3 separate regions of the Homo sapiens genome follow, and regions 2 and 3 are each linked to region 1. The links are contacts of gene promoters, found by promoter capture Hi-C in human tissues and cell types (Jung and others, 2019). All regions are on one chromosome and are shown on one strand. Each heading gives the region's core, a stretch centred on a gene start or on the middle of the fragment in contact. The rest is flanking DNA. Distances are from core to core; before and after follow the strand shown.

Region 1 (2,951 bases), core at 22-2,521:
GTATTGAGTTCCAACGTCTCCCTGTAGAATGCTGGCACTTCGTGGGCAGGCCCTGGTTTTGTTCCTCTCTGCACATAACCCCAGGATGTGCTGGTTGCACAATAAATGGTCCCTTACATTTGTTACTAGGAGCAACCCCCACCCCAGCTTTGGCCCACTCCCCCTCCTTCCAGCCTGTGCCCTCCTCATGGCCCCAGAGCTGGGGAGGAGAGATGCATCTCTCAGGATAATCTCCAGCAGCCAGGTGCTCCCCACCTCCACCCAGGTCAGCAATAAACACCAGAGTCCTTGGGTTGGGGGGCAGGGTGGCTCAGGAGCTCTCTAAGGGCCAGAGGTTTTGCCTTGGCCCTGACAACCCCACCCCCACCCCTCCAAGCCTGAGTCTCTTCAAACTCTGCTCCTCCTGGCCTAGCCAGGCCTCCTGGAGAGGGACGGCGAGATGATAAGCGCTGGGGCTGAGAACGGGGCATCCAGACCTTGGAGTTCGGTCCTAGCTGCCCTGGCCAAGGTTTTGTTTGTCTAGTCCCAAGAGGCAGGCCCTTGGAGTCCAGGGAAGAGAGAAGGAACCACCTGGGCAGACAGACCCAAGCCAAGGGGCCAGGTGTCGCCAGCGTCCCCAATCTCCAGTCTGGCTCTGGCCCGCATGGCAGCTGGAAGGGCCAGAGCTGGGTGGGTTCTGTCAATGCTTCTACGGGGTGTGTAGGGGGTTGGCAGGAGTCACAAATGTTGGCCTTAGCTGCAGGGCAAATGCAGATAGGACCTCCACGGAGTGCCTGTTCCCAACCCAAGGGCACAGCAGAGCTAGGAGAGAGGCCTCAGGGTCCAGGAGGGAGAGGAGGTGTTCAGGCCCAGCTTCCCGGAGAGAGTGTGACTACAGACTAAAAGGGTCAAGGGAACAGGCCCACTTGGCCTGAGGATGAGGGCGCTGGAAGAAGGGGATGGGAGATTGGGTGCTTTTTCTTGATGGGGAGGGGCGACTTGAAGACGGCAATCAAGACCTAGATGACGTGTTTGGTCTGGGGTGGAGTGAGGACGCCAAGAGGGAAAGGACGGCGCCCTGAAGAGACCAGCTCAGGCGAAAACAGGGCTCTGCCCAGGCGGGGACCCAGCTGGGTGGAGGGCGGAGGCAGGAACCCAGGAAGCCGACTGAGCAAAGACTGCGTCCAGGCCCCGCCCCCATGAGCCCGGCCACGCCCCCTGGAGCCCAGCCCCGCCTCCCGGCCGCCCGCGCGCAGGTAGGGAAGAGGCGGAGCGCCGCCGCCCCGCCCCCGAGGAGCCACCGCCCAGCCGCTCGCAGGCGCCGCACGGAGTTGCGTCCCGGGGACTTGGGGCCGCAGGGAGGTGAGCGCGGGGCGACGAGCGGGGCAGGACTCACGGCCGCCCAGCCGCAGGCGCCGGAAGGGTCCCGAGGTTGTGCCCGAGCCTGCCCTGGAGCGGTGGTGCGCGGCCAGGAAGGGTGCCCAGTGCCCGGTGCCCGCCCTGCGGAGCGCCTGGGTCCCACGTGGGCTCGGCTGGAGGCCCGGGCTGGCTCAGACGGCGCCGGCGGGGCCGCTGGACCCGGTCTGCTGGCCCCTAGGGCTCGGCTCGGACAGGACGCCTAAGGGGTCCCTGGGCGACGGGGCGCCAGATGTAGGGGCAAGACGATTGGGCAGAGATTTAAACCTCCGGAGGAAGAGAGGAGACTGCGCAGGGCAGTCCCGCCTGCGTCCCAGAAGTGCCTGCAGTTCAGACCCTTCTCTCCCCTCCACTTTCTCCCGGGTGAGCACCGGGCGGACCGGGGCCGAAGTTTGTTGGTTGAGCCAGCCAAGGTGGAAACAGGTGCGGGGGTGGGGATGAGGGACTCACACAGCAGGGCTGGACCGGAGCTCAGAAATTGGACCCAGGAGTCCTGACTTCTGGATGGAGGGGCTGGGGAAGGTTGGCCCTGGGCTTGCCTTTTACCTGTTTGGCCCCTCGGATGTTCCCCCAGGGCATTGGGATAGAGACGGATAAGTTCCCTAGGGTACAGACCCCGCCCCACTCCCACGCCAGGGCGCAAAGGAAGCCTAGGTTTTGGCCCTGCCCCATTCCATGAAAGATTAACGGAGGGGGCTCTAGGGTTGGAGCTACTGAGAGGGTGGCAGCGGGTGTGTCTGAGGAGCAGAAGGCGGTGGGGAGCTGACCCCACTTGGGGAGAGGCTGCTGTTGCCTGGGCGGCTGGCATCAGGCCCCCAGTGTGTGCCATTTGCTGGTAATATAATGAGACCAGCATCTGCCTTATTCGACCCTCACTGTCCGTAGGGCAGGCAGTGGAAAGGGAGGCGTGTTTTAGAGCTGTGGTTCTCAACCAGGGGCGACTTTGCCTGCCATGGGATATTTGGCAATGTTGGAGTCATTTTGGGTGTCACACACTTGGGAGGGGAAGTGAGTGTTGTTGTTACTGGCAGGTAGTGGGTAGAGGCCAGGGACGCTACCAGACATCTTCAGGGCACGGAACAGCCCACATAACGAGGAATTATCCAGCCCAAGGTGTTGGGCTGTGCTGAGGCTGAGAAACCCTGCGCAGCAGCTGGTCCATCAGGTTCCTTCTCAATGATGCTCCCTCACTGGGGAAACTACCTCAGTTTTCCAGAGTGGTTAGGGGAGGAACTTGGAATAAACCTGAATGAGATGAGGGGTAAGGCAGTGTGAGGGCACTTATTCCCCTCACAAGAGTCTTCCTTTGGTGCCATGAGACACCGCCTTTCCCAATCTCCACTGGCCCTGCAGGAAGCTGGTCTAGGTGCTGTGGGGGAGAGGTTGGGAACAGAGGACCCCCTTGCAGCCCAGGCCTGGGGTGCTTAACCCCAGGGCAATCTCCCAGGAAGGCTGGGCTGAGGCAGCCCTTGAGCTCAAATATCCCTGGGCTGGGAGGGTGGGCAGAGGGCGAGCTCTCTTCCCATAGATTTTCCCAAAGCTGGATTGCTGAAGCT
Region 2 (2,775 bases), core at 245-2,744, 73 kb after region 1:
GGTAGATTGAACATATTCATTTAAATCTACTTCCCCTAGAAACTCTGCTAAAATAACAGCAAAATAATTGTTTTTAGATGTATAAACCCACAAGGACACAGAATGGGAGAGAAAACAATAACAAAAGATCTCCAATTTCTAGAAGGTGGAAGGCAAACAGAAGACTGAGCAGAGCAGAGGCTGAAATGTTGGTACCTGCGGAAAAACACCAAGGAAAAGCACTTTAGAAAGCATCAGGAATTGGAGGCAATTGGTGGCACTCAAGGTGGGAATAAGGTTTGGGCCTAAAAGCAGAGGGATTATGATTAGTTGACAGTCTGTATAGGGAGGGATGAAACTTCCCAAGTCATCTCTTTGAATTCTGCAAACCAGAAAATACTCAATCCCCTTTGCTGGCGAGTGAGAGAGCAGAGGCTTATGCACCAGATTGAGGTACCTTGGGCAGAGCAAGGGGCAGGGTAACGCTGGACTGAAAGAGGGATTCATGAACGTCTGCACACTAAAAGAGCAAATCCCAGCCATGCCCCTGCCTGCTCCTGGAGTGCTGAGGCCAGGCATGAGGCATGGCATTGGATTCCAGTCTGGAAAAAATGAGCATGTCAGCAACAAGACCTGCCATTGCCAGTATGTAGTGGCTCCTCACAGCAGTGGCCAGCTTTCTACTCCATCTAATGTGGTCCTCACCTGTCCAGAGCCTTGCTTATGTTCACAGGGTTTCTATCATCTTTTTATCACCTCAACTTTTTTAACTTTTTTTTTTTTTTTTTTTTTTTGAGACAGAGTCTCACTCTGTCACCCAGGCTGGAGTACAGTGGTGTAATCTTGGCTCACTGCAACCTCTGCCTCCCAGGCTGAAGCACTTCTCCCACCTCAGCCTCCCAAGTAGCTGGGATTACAGCCATGCGCCACCACTCCTGGCTAATTTGTGTGTTTTTTGTCAAGATGGGGTTTTGCCATGTTGCCTAGGCAGGTTTCAAACTCCTGAGCTCAAGTGATCTGCCCACCTCAGCCTCACAAAGTGCTGGGATCACAGGCATGAGCCACCATCCCCAGCCCAACTTTTTATTTTGAAATAATTATAGATGCATAGGAAGTTGCAAACATAGTAGAGGGCTGGCTGGACGCGGTGGCTCATGCCTGTAATCCCAGCACTTTGGGAGGCCGAGGCGGGCAGATCACGAGGTCAGGAGTTCGAGACCAGCCTGGCCAACATGGTTAAACCCCGTCTCTACTAAAAATACAAAAATTAGCCGGGCATGGTGGCATGCGCCCGTAATCCCAGCTACTCGGGAGGCTGAGGCAGGAGAATTGCTTGAACCCAGGAGGCAGAGGTTGCAGTGAACCAAGATCATGCCACTGCACTCCAGCCTGGGCGACAGAGCAAGACTCCATCTCAAAAAAAAAAAAAAAAATAGTAGAGGGGTCCCCTCTACCCTTCATGCAGTTTCCCTTGATGGTCATGTCTTATATAATCACAGACAATATGAAAATCAGGGAATTGACATGGGTACACAATATGTGCATACAGTTTCACACCCTTTATCACATCTGTGGATTCATGTAACCACATGTAACAGCAGTCAAGATACACAACTCTTCCATCACCACAAAGATCTCTTATTGCCTCACTTTTAAATAGGAATGGATGCCAAGAATAACTGGATATGTTCAGAAAGCTTCCAGTATGGAAGGTAGAGGCCAGAGAAAGCAAAGAGAAAAATGTATCTCCGAGGAATCAGAGCTGATTCAGGTAGGAGAAAGCCTTAAAGCACATGGCAAATATACTCAGAAAGAAGAGCCAATATTTTATCCATGAAATAAAAAGTTACTATAAAAATCAGAACAAGAAAGAGTTCTCGGAAATTAAAACCATTACTTTTTCTTTGAAGTTGACGAAGGCTCCCAGGAAACAGATTAAAAACGTCTGACATCTAGGAAGTCTATAAAGAGAGAAAGGGAAAATTAAGGACCATAATGTATCAGAGAAACAAGAATTATTTCAGAATGGACAGTCATAAGTTTCAAAAATGGTAAATGGAAAATGTCCTGTGGCACATTGTGTGATTCCAGAGCACTGGGCATAAAGCTTCCGAAGAGCAAAAACGGGTCACATACAAAAGACTGGGAATGAAGATGGATTGGATTTTTCAACCTCATTGGAAGCCAGAAGACAATGGGGTGGATTTCCTGTTTCAGTGACATGGTAGCTTGAGCTAAAGTTAGAACCGCTCCCATTACAATCACTTAAAATGCTATATAAGCTATAACAACAGAATAAGAAAGAAAAACAGAGAACCGAAAGCAAAGCAGGAATATAAAGCCAGAGCAGAGTAGGCAGCTCTGGGGAGGGGCAAGGTGGGTTCATTGGACCCTGAAATCGACCCTAACAATAATAGAGGTTTGGATTTGCATGAACACGTGAAGCATGGAGTTGAAACAGAAATCCCCTCAAAAGAGCCATTCCCAGGTAAAAGGGATGCAAGAAAATTTCCCCCATGGGATCAGAGAAATGTCAAGGGAGCTGATCATTGCCCCACACTCTGGATTGTGTTGGAGGAAGTCTTCTGTGAACAGTGGAAAACATCCAAGTTCTAAGTCTGTGTTTATAACATCTACATGTTGCAGGAATGCCCGAGCTGGCACCAGACCAGCCAGCAGACTGGCGATACCCCTGAAGCTTCTTGCTTGCAGAACAAAGGCAGAACTTTTCTAGAGTGACCCTTGCACAGTACAGGCCTTTTGGAATCCTAGGATGCCCACAGATGATGAGCTTGT
Region 3 (3,162 bases), core at 230-2,729, 100 kb before region 1:
CCACGCCTGGCTAATTTTTGTATTTTTAGTAGAGACGGAGTTCCACCATCTTAACCAGGCTGGTCTTGAACTCCTGACCTCAAGTGATCTGCCCACCTCAGCCTCCCAAAGTGCTGGGATTACAGGTGTGAGTCACCGCGCCCAGCCCCATCCTTTTTCTTGACTCCTTCCAGCTTAGACCAAAAACCCCAAGTGCAAGTTCAGGCTTCCAAACTCTACGGCCTCTGATATGGTTTGGATGTGTGTCCCCTCCAAACCTCATGTTGAAACATGATTCCTAATGTTAGATGTGGGGCCTGATGGGGGGTGATTCGATCATGGGGTAGATCCTTCATGAATGGCTCAGCAACATCCCCTTGGTGATAAGTGAGTTTTGCTCAGTTAGTTCATGCAAGGTCTGGTTGTTTAAGAGTCTGGGACCTCTCCCTTCTCTCTATTGCTCTCTCTCCAAGTGACATGCCTGCTCCCACTTCACCTTCCGCCATGAATAAGAGCTCCCTGAGGCCTCACCAGAAGCCAAGCAGATGTGGGCACCATGCTTCCTGTACAGCCTGCAGAACAATGAGCCAATTAAACCTCTTTTCTTTATAAATTATCCACTGTCAGGTATTTATAGCAATGTAAAAACAGACTAACAGCCTCCAACTATGTCCTCTTCCCAAGGAGTGCCCTTGCAATGATTCAAAGCCTGGGCCAGGAATTGAGTGTTTTACCGGTGGGTAAACCATGGCTTATCCATTAAACGTTGCAGCATAATTTATCTTTCAACAACCCCAGTCTCTCTTTCTCTTCCGCCTTTCAGAGTCACTGGTGCAAGGGCTCACACAGTTACTCACGGATTTAACATTATTTTTCCTCTTTTCTCACATGCCTGGGACTTAGACAACTAATTCAGCTGTTTTAGAGGATTTAAAAGGTTAAAGTACAGATCTAACACGTCTCGCAATTCTCTGCTTCTGGGTCAGCAGTTTTTTTGGGTTTTTTGTTTTTTTTTTGAGACAAAGTCTTGTTCTCTCGCCAAGGCTGGAATGTAATGGCACGATCTGGGCTCACTGCAACCTCTGCCTCCCAGGTACAAGTGATTCTCCTGCCTCAGCCTCCCGAGTAGCTGGGATTACAGGTGCCTGCCACCACACCTGGCTAATTTTTGTATTTTTAGTAGAGACGGGATTTCGCCATGTTGGCCAGGCTGGTCTCAAACTCTCGACCTCAGGCGGTCCGCCTGCCTTGGCCTCCCAAAATGCTGGGATTACAGGTGTGAGCCACCATGCCCAGCCTAGGATCAGCAGTTTTTGATCTTGTTCTTTTTTGCAGTGAGGAGTAGGCAAAGGGTCCAAAAGTTGCTCCTGGGTCGAGGGTGCATTGGAGAGATCAAGAGAGATTCAGAAGCAGGACAGATATTTGTGTTAGTAATGTTACAGGCACTTCAACCAGAGTGACTCCATCTTGAATAGGGACTGGGTAAAATGAGGTTGAGACCTGCTGTACTGCATTCCTAGGGGGTTAGACATTCTTAGTCATAGGGTGAGATAGGAGCTCGCAAGATACAGGTCACAAAGACCCTGCTGATAAAACAGGATGCAGTAAAGAAGCCAGCCAAAACCAAGATGGCAACAAATGTAACCTCTAATAGTCCTCACTGCCCATTATATGCTAATTATAATGCATTAGCATGCTAAAGTCACTCCCACCGGCACCATGAAAGCTTAGAAATGCCATGGCAACGTTCAGAAGTTACCTTATATGGTCTAAAAGGGGGAGGAAACCTCATTTCCAAAAAATCCCCACCCGTTTCCTGGAAAACATAATAATCCACTCCTCGTTTAGCATATGATCAAGAGATAACCATAAAAATAGCCACCCACTGGGAGGCGGAGGCGGGTGGATCACAAGGTCAGGAGATTGAGACCATCCAGGCTAACACCATGAAACCCCATCTCTACTAAAAATAAAAATAAATAAAAAAAATAGCCACCCAGCAGCTCTTGGGGCTGCTCTGCCTATGGAATAGCTATTCTTTTGTTTCTTTACTTCTCTAACAAACTTGCTTTCACTTTACTCTGGACTCACCCTAAATTCTTTATTGCATGAGATCCCAGAACCCTCTCTTGGGGTCTGGATTGGGACCCCTTTCTGGTGATAGTAATGGAAAGTCTAAAGTGTACTCAGAGGATAGTGTTGCATTCATGCTGGTCTCCATGGCAGTCCTCACATGTCCTGTTGACTGTATGTATTTATTTTTGAGAGAGGGTCTCACCCCATCACCCAGGCTGGAGTGCAGTGGCGCTATTGCAGCTCTCTGCAGCCTTGAACTCCCAGGCTCAAACGATCCTCCCACCTTAGCTTCCTGCATATGTGCCACCACACCCAGTTAACTTTTTTTCTCTCTTTTTGGTAGAGACAGGGTCTCACGATGTCGCCTAGGCTTGTCTCGAACTCTTGGGCTCAAGCGATCGGCCCACCTCGGCCTCCCAAAGTACTGGGATTACAGGCATAAGTCACTATTCCCTGCTTTGACTGGTATTTAAAGGAAAGCTTAAAGTCAAACATTGTGTTCACAGAAGGAGAAAAGTACACTGTACCAAGCTTGAGGATTTATACTTATCTACAAAATTGTTTGCAAATCGGTTTATACAAAAATGTGGCATTTTCTGGATTATCACATACTGGGTGGGCACAAAGAATAGTTCTGTGTTGGCACTGGGGAACAGGGAACTAGAGGCCTGACCCCGACCCCCTTCACATACACAAACACACACACACACTCACACACACACACTCACGCACACACCAGCTTCCTCAGAATCTCAAGGCAGGTTGGGTGTGGTGGCTTATGCCTGTATCCTAGTATTTTGGGAGGCCAAGGCAAACGGATTCCTTGAGCTCAGGAGTTCAAGACCAGTCTGGGCAACATGGCAAAACCCCATCTCTACTAAAAGTACAAAAATTAGCCAGGTGTGGTGGTGCGCATCTATAGTCCTAGCTACTCAGGAGGCTGAGGTGGAAGGATAGCTTGAGCCCAGGAGTTCAAGACTGCAGTGAGCCATGATCACGGCGCCACTGTACTCCAAGCTGGGTGACAGAGTAAGACCCTGTCCCCCCAGCCCCACCTAAAAAAAAACTCAAGGCAAATAGCACACCCAAGGTGATGCACGATATGGT

Evidence for each region. Contacts are between HindIII fragments. The study calls those that stand out against the background at their distance.
Region 2: a fragment that was not itself captured here is called in contact with the fragment with the promoter of RHBDF2 in region 1 in 6 of the 25 tissues and cell types used here (IMR-90 fibroblasts, adrenal gland, dorsolateral prefrontal cortex and 3 more).
Region 3: a fragment that was not itself captured here is called in contact with the fragment with the promoter of RHBDF2 in region 1 in 3 of the 25 tissues and cell types used here (dorsolateral prefrontal cortex, mesenchymal stem cells and neural progenitor cells).

Annotation. Positions count from the first base shown.
Region 1 is chr17:76,499,743-76,502,693 of GRCh38, reverse strand. It overlaps RHBDF2 (rhomboid 5 homolog 2), which reads left to right and starts at 1,271. Exons shown (of 19, transcript NM_001005498.4): 1 at 1,271-1,341. RefSeq lists enhancers at 854-993, 1,344-2,013 and a silencer at 1,044-1,683. The HindIII fragment of the contact is 32,589 bases long and covers 1-2,951 here.
Region 2 is chr17:76,427,540-76,430,314 of GRCh38, reverse strand. The region is part of intron 1 of UBE2O (ubiquitin conjugating enzyme E2 O); the gene reads left to right. Among named protein-coding and RNA genes, the nearest start is that of UBE2O, 24 kb to the left of the region's middle. The HindIII fragment of the contact is 3,437 bases long and covers 1-2,775 here.
Region 3 is chr17:76,600,415-76,603,576 of GRCh38, reverse strand. No RefSeq gene overlaps it. Among named protein-coding and RNA genes, the nearest start is that of ST6GALNAC2, 16 kb to the right of the region's middle. RefSeq lists enhancers at 725-1,271, 1,272-1,819, 1,146-2,345 and a silencer at 2,196-2,490. The HindIII fragment of the contact is 3,370 bases long and covers 1-3,162 here.